Regions from separate parts of the Homo sapiens genome. Here region 2 is linked to region 1. Evidence: promoter capture Hi-C in human tissues and cell types (Jung and others, 2019). All regions are on one chromosome and are shown on one strand. The core of a region is centred on a gene start or on the middle of the fragment in contact, and the rest is flanking DNA. Distances in the headings are between cores, read along the strand shown.

What was found. Contacts are between HindIII fragments. The study calls those that stand out against the background at their distance.
Region 2: a contact is called between a fragment that was not itself captured here and the fragment with the promoter of UNC5D in region 1, in 2 of the 25 tissues and cell types used here (aorta and spleen).

What each region holds. Positions count from the first base shown.
Region 1 is chr8:35,232,610-35,237,156 of GRCh38, reverse strand. UNC5D (unc-5 netrin receptor D) reads right to left here and starts at 1,682. Exons shown (of 17, transcript NM_080872.4): 1 at 1,270-1,682. The coding sequence starts at 1,372. The HindIII fragment of the contact is 15,361 bases long and covers 1-4,547 here.
Region 2 is chr8:35,499,933-35,504,687 of GRCh38, reverse strand. The region is part of intron 1 of UNC5D (unc-5 netrin receptor D); the gene reads right to left. Among named protein-coding and RNA genes, the nearest start is that of UNC5D, 270 kb to the right of the region's middle. The HindIII fragment of the contact is 3,255 bases long and covers 906-4,160 here.

The DNA of each region.
Region 1 (4,547 bases), core at 433-2,932:
TGGGCAAAGAATAGGATCATACAATGGAGAGCCTCTATCAACCTCTTAAAAAGAAAATCTTTCTAGGCAGCCGGACTGCTTTTAACACGCCATAAGCTTTTATAAAAATGAGATAACATTGGTTCTTTTGTGATCGTCCTCAACCCTTTCCACCCTTTCACTCTCCAGGCTGGTCGGAGCATGTTCAGGAGACCGAACAGAGCAGGTGAAGTGGTCAGCTCAGCTCCACCTCTCCCCTGGCAAGTGTAAGGCAAATCATTTAACGGTATCACATATTCTAAGCCTGATGGATGGAACACAGAGAAGGAAAAAGGGAAAGAAGGGCGGGAAGGCAAAGCTTCCGATTTTTTTCAAAGGTAAAGCTCCGGTACTTGAGCTGTGTCTGAAACTGCCTCTGATCATCTTCAAAACAACTCCTTGGGATTTATCTTTAACTTGATGCTGCCTGTCCTCGCTCAAGGTGGAGCTGAAACCAGTTGCGAAATTTCCCTCTGCTGGAGTCCAGAGGATCCAAGAAAATGGGGTCTAGGCTTCTAAGTCGGAAAGAAGCAGAGGTTTCCCTGCGGCTCGGTGGGGCCCGCGCTTCCAAGCCAGAGTAGGCGCCGGGAAGGGAGAGGAGGCGCCTGGTGAGCAGCCTCGGGCCAAGTGCTCATCCCGGCTGGGCACTGCAGGCGCGGTTAAACTGGGATGGTGCACGCCGCTCTCCCGAGCTCCAGGGCTGGCTGGGACCTCGGGCTAAGGACGCCCGAGGGGTGCCAAGCTAGGCGCAGAGCGAAGGGACTTCAGCATGGGTGTTCCTCCCCTAAGGGAAAAGACACCCTCTCTGTTCAAGCCCACCCTACAGACACTCCCATCACCTGGCCCCTCTCCCCAGGAACTCTCCGACATCGCTATGGGCGCTAACTCATGACCAAGCTCGGCTTGAGAGGAAGTGGAGAGGAGAGGGGAGAGCGAGATTGGAGTGAAGACCGGGCTACTCCAGTCTGCAGCAATTGGGGAGGGCTTGGAAAATGGAGCAGGCAAGGAGGGTCCAGGAAAACGGTAGGGGCCCGGGTCACAGCCACCTGTAGGATTGCGGCAGATCGCAAACTTGGGTTGGAAGGCTGTGGTCCCCTCGGAGTCCTCCACTCGGCTCCCATCCGGTTGGGCTTGGAGCGCCGAGGTGCAGGGCGCAAGTTGGGAAGCCAACGCCATCGGTGCAGGTCCCGCTCCGTCAGGCTGGCGCCCCTGCGCCCTCGCCCCCAGCTGCCCGCTCCGCCCAGCGCTTACCTCGGGCAGCCGCGGTCCCTGCCGCCCAGAAGCACAGCCCCAGCCACGGGAGCCAGCGGCGCGCCCCTCCGCCGCCGCCTGCGGTGGCCGCCGCTCTCCCCATGCTCCTCGCCGCGTTCCGGAGGGCGGCTCTTCTTCACGCTCCGGGAGCCCGGGAAAGGGTCGGCGATGAGGGTCCCGAGTCGAATGGGTCTCGGGAGTCTTCAGAGAGTGACTCTGCTCCACGATCGCTTCCTAAAGCAGCGGGGCAGGGAGCTCCGAGCCGCCGCTGAATGGGCACCCCGAGAAAGGGCGCGTCCCCATAGCTTCCCACGGCGCGGCGACCGCTGCCGCCAGCGCGGATGCCGGAGTCGCCCGCAGTCCCCGCCGCGCAGTTCCCAGCCCTCGCGCCGCTGCCGGGCCCCGAACTACGGAGCGGAGGCGAGAGTCCGCATCGCTAATGAGACCCCCGCAGCCGCCCCTTCCCCTCCCCTCCGAGCGGCAGCCAATGAGCCGGGCTGGGGCGGGGCCGCGGGAGGGGCGGTGACGCGGCGGCGCTGGGCTGGGGCCCGGGAGGCGCAGGTGAGCCAGAGGCCGCTCCACGTGCCCCCGGGGCGCTTCGGGCCCCGCCTGCAGCTCCCCCCCCCGCTCGCGGAGAGAGGAAGCGGGCTGGGAGTCGGGCGGCGGGGATGCGGCCACGCCGCGGGGAGCTGAGCGGAGCCGGCTGGCCTCTTGGGGCGAACGCCGCACAGATATGTGGGCATCTCGGTTGCCTAACTCAGTCACCTGCTTCCAGGAGACCTCCGTTTTGTTCATCTACTTTGAGCCCTTCTAAAGTCCTGCCTCTCCTACTTCCACTTTTTCCCATTAGATCAGACATCACTCAGGAAAACATCCTGAGAAAAAGAAAGACTTAAAATAAATGCGTAGTGGGAAAAAATAATAATGGAGTTACTCCATTGCTGCAACTATGCTAACTTCATTCATATAAATAAAGAAGTGGGGAATAACAATCATGGGTGCATTAAGGCTTGTATAATCGATTTTTATTTTTGCTTTCTTTTTTTTTCGAATTCCCTATTCTGTTGTCCTGAACACTCCGGAATCCCCAAACTTTTCAGAAGCTCCCTCATTTCGAATGGCTCCTATTTTTGTCAGTTTTAATCTGAGCCCAAGGAATTGCCTTCTGGTAAGTATCAGGGAAAGGAGTGTCGACTTAAAAAGGAAGAAGGTGAGGCGAAATTAATATAAGTAAGAGTTTATTTGGGCCAAGTGTGAGGATTGCAACTCAGGAGTATAGATTTAAGTTGTTTTGAATATATATTTTGATTAGTAGTAGTTATAAGTGGATTCTTAAAGGCAAAAAAAAGGGGGATGGGGAGTGGACTGATGTAACATTGTTAGGAATTTATACTGATTTATTGAAATAATGTCGATTAGTGATTAGTTATATATAGTTAAGTCATAGGATGTGGGTTATACTGTTTGATGTGGTATTATTAGGTTAATTTATAGCTATTTGTAGTAATAGTATGTAGTTTTAAGAAATGAATATATAGTTTAAAGGAAGGAGTAGGGCATGATTGTGGTCTCATTCTAATGTCTCTCTGGGCCTGACAATTAAAAGGACTTTGAAACGCGCTGGACTTTTATAAGAAGAAGGAAAGAAGACTCTTTTTTTTTTTTTTTTTAAGTGTGGCTTGTTTTAGATAGATTATCAAATTTTTATTTAACTGCTTTCGAAAATACCTCACGGTTGCCTCTTCCCTCTGCTGGAGGAGTAACTTTAGAGAGCTTGTCCTAGGTCACTCAATTTCAGAGCACACCCAGGAAGTTGGTGGGGAGTCCCAGGCTCCCCAATTGGACTACCTCATTATCGCTGCCAGGATCGAGTCCTCAAAATGGCAGCAGAGCTCACCTTTTGCCTGGTAATCCCCCATAGAAAAGGGAGCCTTGGTTTGAAAGGCAACCTTCCCAGCAGTTCCTCACTACCCACGCTCAACATCAAGTACTTTTCAAAAATCCATGTCTCCCGCCAATGTGCTACCTGCTCCCAAACGCCTTTCTCTGAAGAATAAACAGTTTAAGGTGAGGTAATTGTTCTAGATGAGGTAATTGCACTAACTCACTTTCTTCCGAGGAAAAGGAAGATAATAGGCAAAAAAGATTGATTCTCTGATAAGCACTTTTGTGCCAGCCCTCTCTTGAGTGCCACCAGACACGTGAATGTCTGTGCAAGAAGCCGATTGTTTCCTCCGGTCGCCTTGCGGCTCAATAAAAGGTTTGGGACCTAGTCAAGAAAACCAAGCTCTGGGGAATGGATGCTTCAAAGCAAAGACTGATGTGGGGCTGGCTAGGGACTTGCCTGGAAATCTCTTTAGAATCTTGGTAAATGAGGGTTTTGTCCTTTTCTGCTTAGAAGGTGAATTGAGAATTAATCTACCAAATATGCTTTACCTGTCTTCTGGAAAATAGTCATTCATCGCCTGACTTTCCTTATTCTTCAGGACTATGTGGCAGTTCTGTCACAAATGAGGATTTTCTTAGAACAAAAAAGGAAAAAAGAATTACTATGTGTCCAAGATACTATTTAAGTCTTTCTACTGACCCACTGGGGGCAAAAATAAAATCAGTTTTATTTCAAAATGGGATATAAGTAATAGATAAGCTAATTTTAGGTTAATAATTCAAGTAAAATTGCAATGACAAATGAGAGTGAAGGGGGAAATTAATAACCTTTTAGTGTATACCATGCTCAAGGATTGAGTCTCTCATGCAGATTATTATTTTAAAGCAGAACCAAACCCTGCAAGGTAGGCGTTATTATTCCTATTTAGCAAGTGAGGAAAGTCAGATTGAGTTTAAAGGTGATTTGCCCAAGATCACATTAGTAAGTGGCTGAACGTCATGAATGATATACTAGTTTGTGTAATTTTAAACCCAAGATGAAGGCTGAGGTAGCATCCATTCAATCAGGTTTTCCAGAGATAGACTTTCCACCTCATCCTCCTCAGAACTGTTTAGATACCGGGTTGACAGAAGTTGAATCTTTAGTATTATACACACTGTATTAATTGCACATCACTATTATGTTTCAGATGGTAATATACCCTATATTAATCTAATCCTGGCTATTTTTTAACATGTGTGAATTGTACTTTATTCCATTATGGAGAAATATGTATATCTATTTGGAGAAATAAGTTGAGTAGTTGCTACCCAGGATCACTGTCTCTGGCCAAGAAACAGCAGGATGTAATAGAACTTTCGTGAGATTCAAGACAGGCAGAGGCTAGGCG
Region 2 (4,755 bases), core at 1,284-3,783, 270 kb before region 1:
AATGCTGATGCATACAAAAATCTGGGACTCTATTAGAGTTGCCAGAAAGAACAAAGGAGCCAACAAACTAGAGGCTTTGAATGGAGTCTAAGCACCTCCAATAAGGTGATTAAGCCTGGTGGTAAAACCTCGGCCTTCCTTATCTTCTCTTCCTTTGCTCTTTTACAATGCATTCCTCACATTACACCTCAGGACCTCTCCACCATTCACAAGCAAGTTATTAGCTTGAAGGTTTTAAGAAGGCTGTATCTAATACTTCTGGGTATTCCCAAAGAGGATTGAAAACTAAGAGCTAACAACTGCATAGCACCCATGAGAGGCAATGTCTAAGCACTCAGAGATATTAACTCTTTTAATTAGCCTCACATAGCTATGAGGCTGTCATTTTTTCAAATTACAAAGATCAAAACAGAGAGCCCAAACAGCTTGCCTAAGGTCACACGGCAGGTCAGGGCTGATCCAGGATTTACCCAGGTATCCAGCTGGTGCCATAATTAAGTGAGAAGTCATCAATGGTTTTTGCTTCACTCTCATCAAACCCCCGTGAGTATGTGGCACTCTGTCCTTCTAAGCATTGTCCTCATACTTTCTCCTGCATAGAATACCTCACATCTTCATAATCTTTTTACCTCTCACCCACCCTTCCAGGCCTATAGTTAATTAAGGTCAGCCAAACCTGGCAACCATTTCAAGGGTTAAAAGCGTGAGTGATAATACTTTCTGCTTTATAGGATTGTTTCTGGAAGTTTAAGTCGTATATTTTAAATGCTAATAAGCACTGTGCCGGGCACTCAGCTAGCATGTTGAGCAGGTAACTATAATTAATGTTCTTTTTGACTGTCCCATTCTCTTTCTTTAGATGTTAAGACAGCACCAGACACAGGGAGGCTCTTTTAATACACACTCTTCAATGACGATGATTCAGAGGGAGCAACACCAGGAGTGGGAATTAAAATTCTAACTCCCTTTCTATTAAGGAAGCCACCAGCATAGTGTTTAACCATTTTAATTAACAAAAACTTACACTACTAATTACCCTCCATTCCTTCCTTCTTGAGAGAATGTGAATAAAACAGAGTGAAATATTCACAGTCCTGAGCACAGGGTCATATCCTTTCCCTGACACTTGCCAACTGATATGGTTTGGCTGTGTCCCCACCCAAATCTCATCTTGAATTGTAACTCCCATAATTCCCACATGCTGTGGGAGGGACCTGGTGGGAGATAATTGAATCATGGGGGTGGTTTCCCCCATACTGCTCTCATGCTAGTGAGTAAGTCTCAGGAGATCTGATGGCTTTATAGGGGGTTTTCCCTTTGACGCGGCTCTCATTCTCTCTTGCCTGCCACCATGATTGTGAGGCCTCCCCAGCTACGTGGAACTGTGAATCCATTAAACCTCTTTTTCTTTATAAATTACTCAGTCTCAGGTATCTCTTTATCAGCGGCATGAAAACGGACTAATACACCGACTATGTGATCTCTGGGAGATCACTGTCCCAAGTCAGATTTCTAGTGCCAGCCACACACTTTGAGTCCCTGCTCTGCCATGTTCTTAGCTGAGAGAATTTAGGCAAGGCTACAAGTCACCCAGGTATCTTGTAAAAATTCAGGTTTTGAATCCGTTGTTCTGGGGATAACTGATTTGTACTTCTACAACTGATTTTGTATTTTTAACAAATTCCAAAGTGATATTCATGCTCCTGGTCTATGGACCACACTTTGAGTAGCAAGGAGCTTGAGCATAGTTTCCTTGCCTATTAAGAAAAATGAAAATAACAGGATCATCCTTTCTGTGAGGATGAAATAAGAGAGTCCATATAGGCTGGGCGCGGTGGCTCACGCCTGTAATCCCAGCACTTTAAGAGGCTGAGGTGGGCAGATCACGAGGTCAGGAGATTGAGACCATCCTGGCCAACATGGTGAAACCCCGTCTCTACTAAAAATACAAAAAAAAAAAAATTAGCCGGGCATGGTGGTGTGCACCTGTAGTCCCAGCTACTCAGGAGGCGGAGGCAGGGGAATCGCTTGAACCTGGGAGGCAGAGGTTGCAGTGAGCCAAGATCGCACCACTGCACTCTAGCCTGGGCAACAGAGCAAGATTCCATCTCAAAAAAGAAAACAAACAAACAAAAAAACGAAGAGAATCCATGCAAAATCCTTAGTACACAGCCTTAGAAAGAACTCAAATCCATTTGAGATATTTTATTTGAAATAATTTTAGTTAGGAAGAATTGGCAGGACTGAAGTCCAGGGAGCTCCCATGGTCATCTGGGATAACCAGGATGGTAATGGCAGTCCTGAAATTTGATCCTGCCACACGCATGTGTGACAACTCTGCTTAGATCTGAATAGCACCTACTCTTTACAGGAAAAGAGCTTTGGCTTATAAGAAGGATAAACGTTATAGGCATCCCTCATCTCTAAGTTCACCCACCATTGGACTGTTTATCCAGCCCTCTGAGTGCTTTCGGTAGGCTCTGCCATGATATGCTTACCTTAGTGAGACTCTGCAGAAATTGAGGGATAACTTCCCATAAAACATGTTTATAATTGGCTATGGGAGACCAACACATTATATGTACCAATGAGGATTAATATGCTCGTAAAACACTGGTAGTAGCAGTCTCTCTTGCCAGCTGAAAACAATGCATCATCCCTTTTGTAGTCTCTTGTCTTATAAATTCATATTTTATTTATGTACAATTTAAAAATACTCAAACTTTAAATATTAAGCGGAGGGCAAGTTATCACAAATAATCATCTCTCTCACATTTGTTTAATGCCGAAGTTAGGGGAAAACATATCAATTAACACAGATCACTTTCTTCAACACACAAAGTTTTATTTGTTAACACATCAAATAAAGCACAAAGTAGTATTTGCTCAGAGGTAAACTACCAGAGCAGGAACTTTGTAAGGCTCATGGGAATTTTATATTTATGAAGTACATTCTAATGATGGTAAGAGTGGGGTAACTGAATGCAAATCCTTTATATCAATTCTGAATGGTAACAGTCATGATTTTAAATTTTTGTTTCTTCTTTTTTTAAAAGATACAAACTACTCAGAACTTTGGAGGCTTTCTGACTTATTTGTTTTATAACATCTGCCTTCTGCCCTTGCACGGAGATTTCAAAAGCTGAGACATCTTCAGCTAAGCTTTGACTGTGGGTGACTTGAGAGGCATTTCCCTCCAAGAGGAGCTTATAGCTATCTTCCTCACAGAGCCCCACTGCTCCACTCAGGGGCTCTGCCCATAGTGATCTGAATTTGAAAGCTTTCTTTCCCCGGCCTTATGCCTTCAAGTATAGAAACATAAAGGAAAGCCACCATCAGTACAAAAGCTACAACTAGGGCACAAACATGTGGGAGGCCAACTGGTGGGGACTCTTTGCTTTCAACCTTGGTCAGGCAGCACCTGGAAGTGACAAAGTTCTCTGGAAAAGTTTTTTCTGACACTAAGCCTTTCTAGATAGATGGCATTATTTCGAATGCCTTGGTAATCACGTTTTCTGAACCGTGTCAGTGTTTCCAGAGTAGTTTCATGGCTGACTCTCTGGGCAGACAGCCTTTGGTCAGTCAGACATGAGGTATTTATTGAGCAACTACTATGTAACAAGTGCTGTGCTAACCACTGGCAAACAAGTCAGACATGTCCCCTGACCTCACAGAGCTCATGGGAAAGCACCCAGAGGTGCAGTACCAAGAATCATGGTACTCTAAATGCTACTTTCCTCCTATTTCCTTTGAATTTTAACAATTTCCAAACCCCTATTAGAAAGGTTTTGGATCTTATTTTTAACTAAAACATTTTAAAATGTCATACTTGTCATTCTCCCTTGCCCCTAAATGTGGAAAATATCCAGTGAATTCAGCCTGATCTTTTGCTTTAAGTCATCCGTTCATACACATGCATTCAATCAATCACCAATCATTTATCACGCAGCCGTGATATACAAGGCTCTGTGCTAAATATGAGGATAATAACCAGCCCAAGATACCCGCAGCCTAGTAGGCAAGGTCAAAAACCTCAGTGGGTTAAACTATAATGTGACGAGTAGCATAAATATGGTTTACAGACAGTGTTGTGAGAAGTTCAGAAAAGAAAGATGTCAGGGATTACTTCCACAGAGAATAAAATATTTCATTCATTGGGTCACATAAATATACAGTTGAATAGGAACATGAATGGTTTAATAGAAGTACTTAACATCTTATAAGCCTAATAGAGTCAATAAAAGGCATTACAGGTTAAATGTAGCCCCCAAAAGTTAATGGGTTAAAAACATCTCTCTGCCCTCATGAATGGGTTAGTGTCACTATCAGGACAGTGGGTTCCTTATCATGGGAGTGGCTTTACTATAAAAGCAAGCTCTCTCTGGCTTTCTCCCTCTCGCCATATAATGCCCTCCACCATGTTATGATGCAGTAGGAAGGCCCTCAACAGATGCTAGCACTATGCTCTTGGACTTCCCAGTCTCCAGAACTATAAGAAATAAATTTATTTTCTTATTCAGAAAATAGACTAAGACAAGAGGCAAAGACATATTTCCTTGAAAACTAATTAATACTATCAGAATACATGGCTTAATGTCATTCAAATATGAAATCAATTATTTAAAATGAAAGGTGAGGGTGATAATTTGTTTTTGTTGTTGTTCAATACTGTTTAGGGTTTGAGTGGTGCAAGATGTTTACTATTCCCAATTTGATAGTTTCACTTGCACAGAATCCAATTAGAGTGTCAGATAT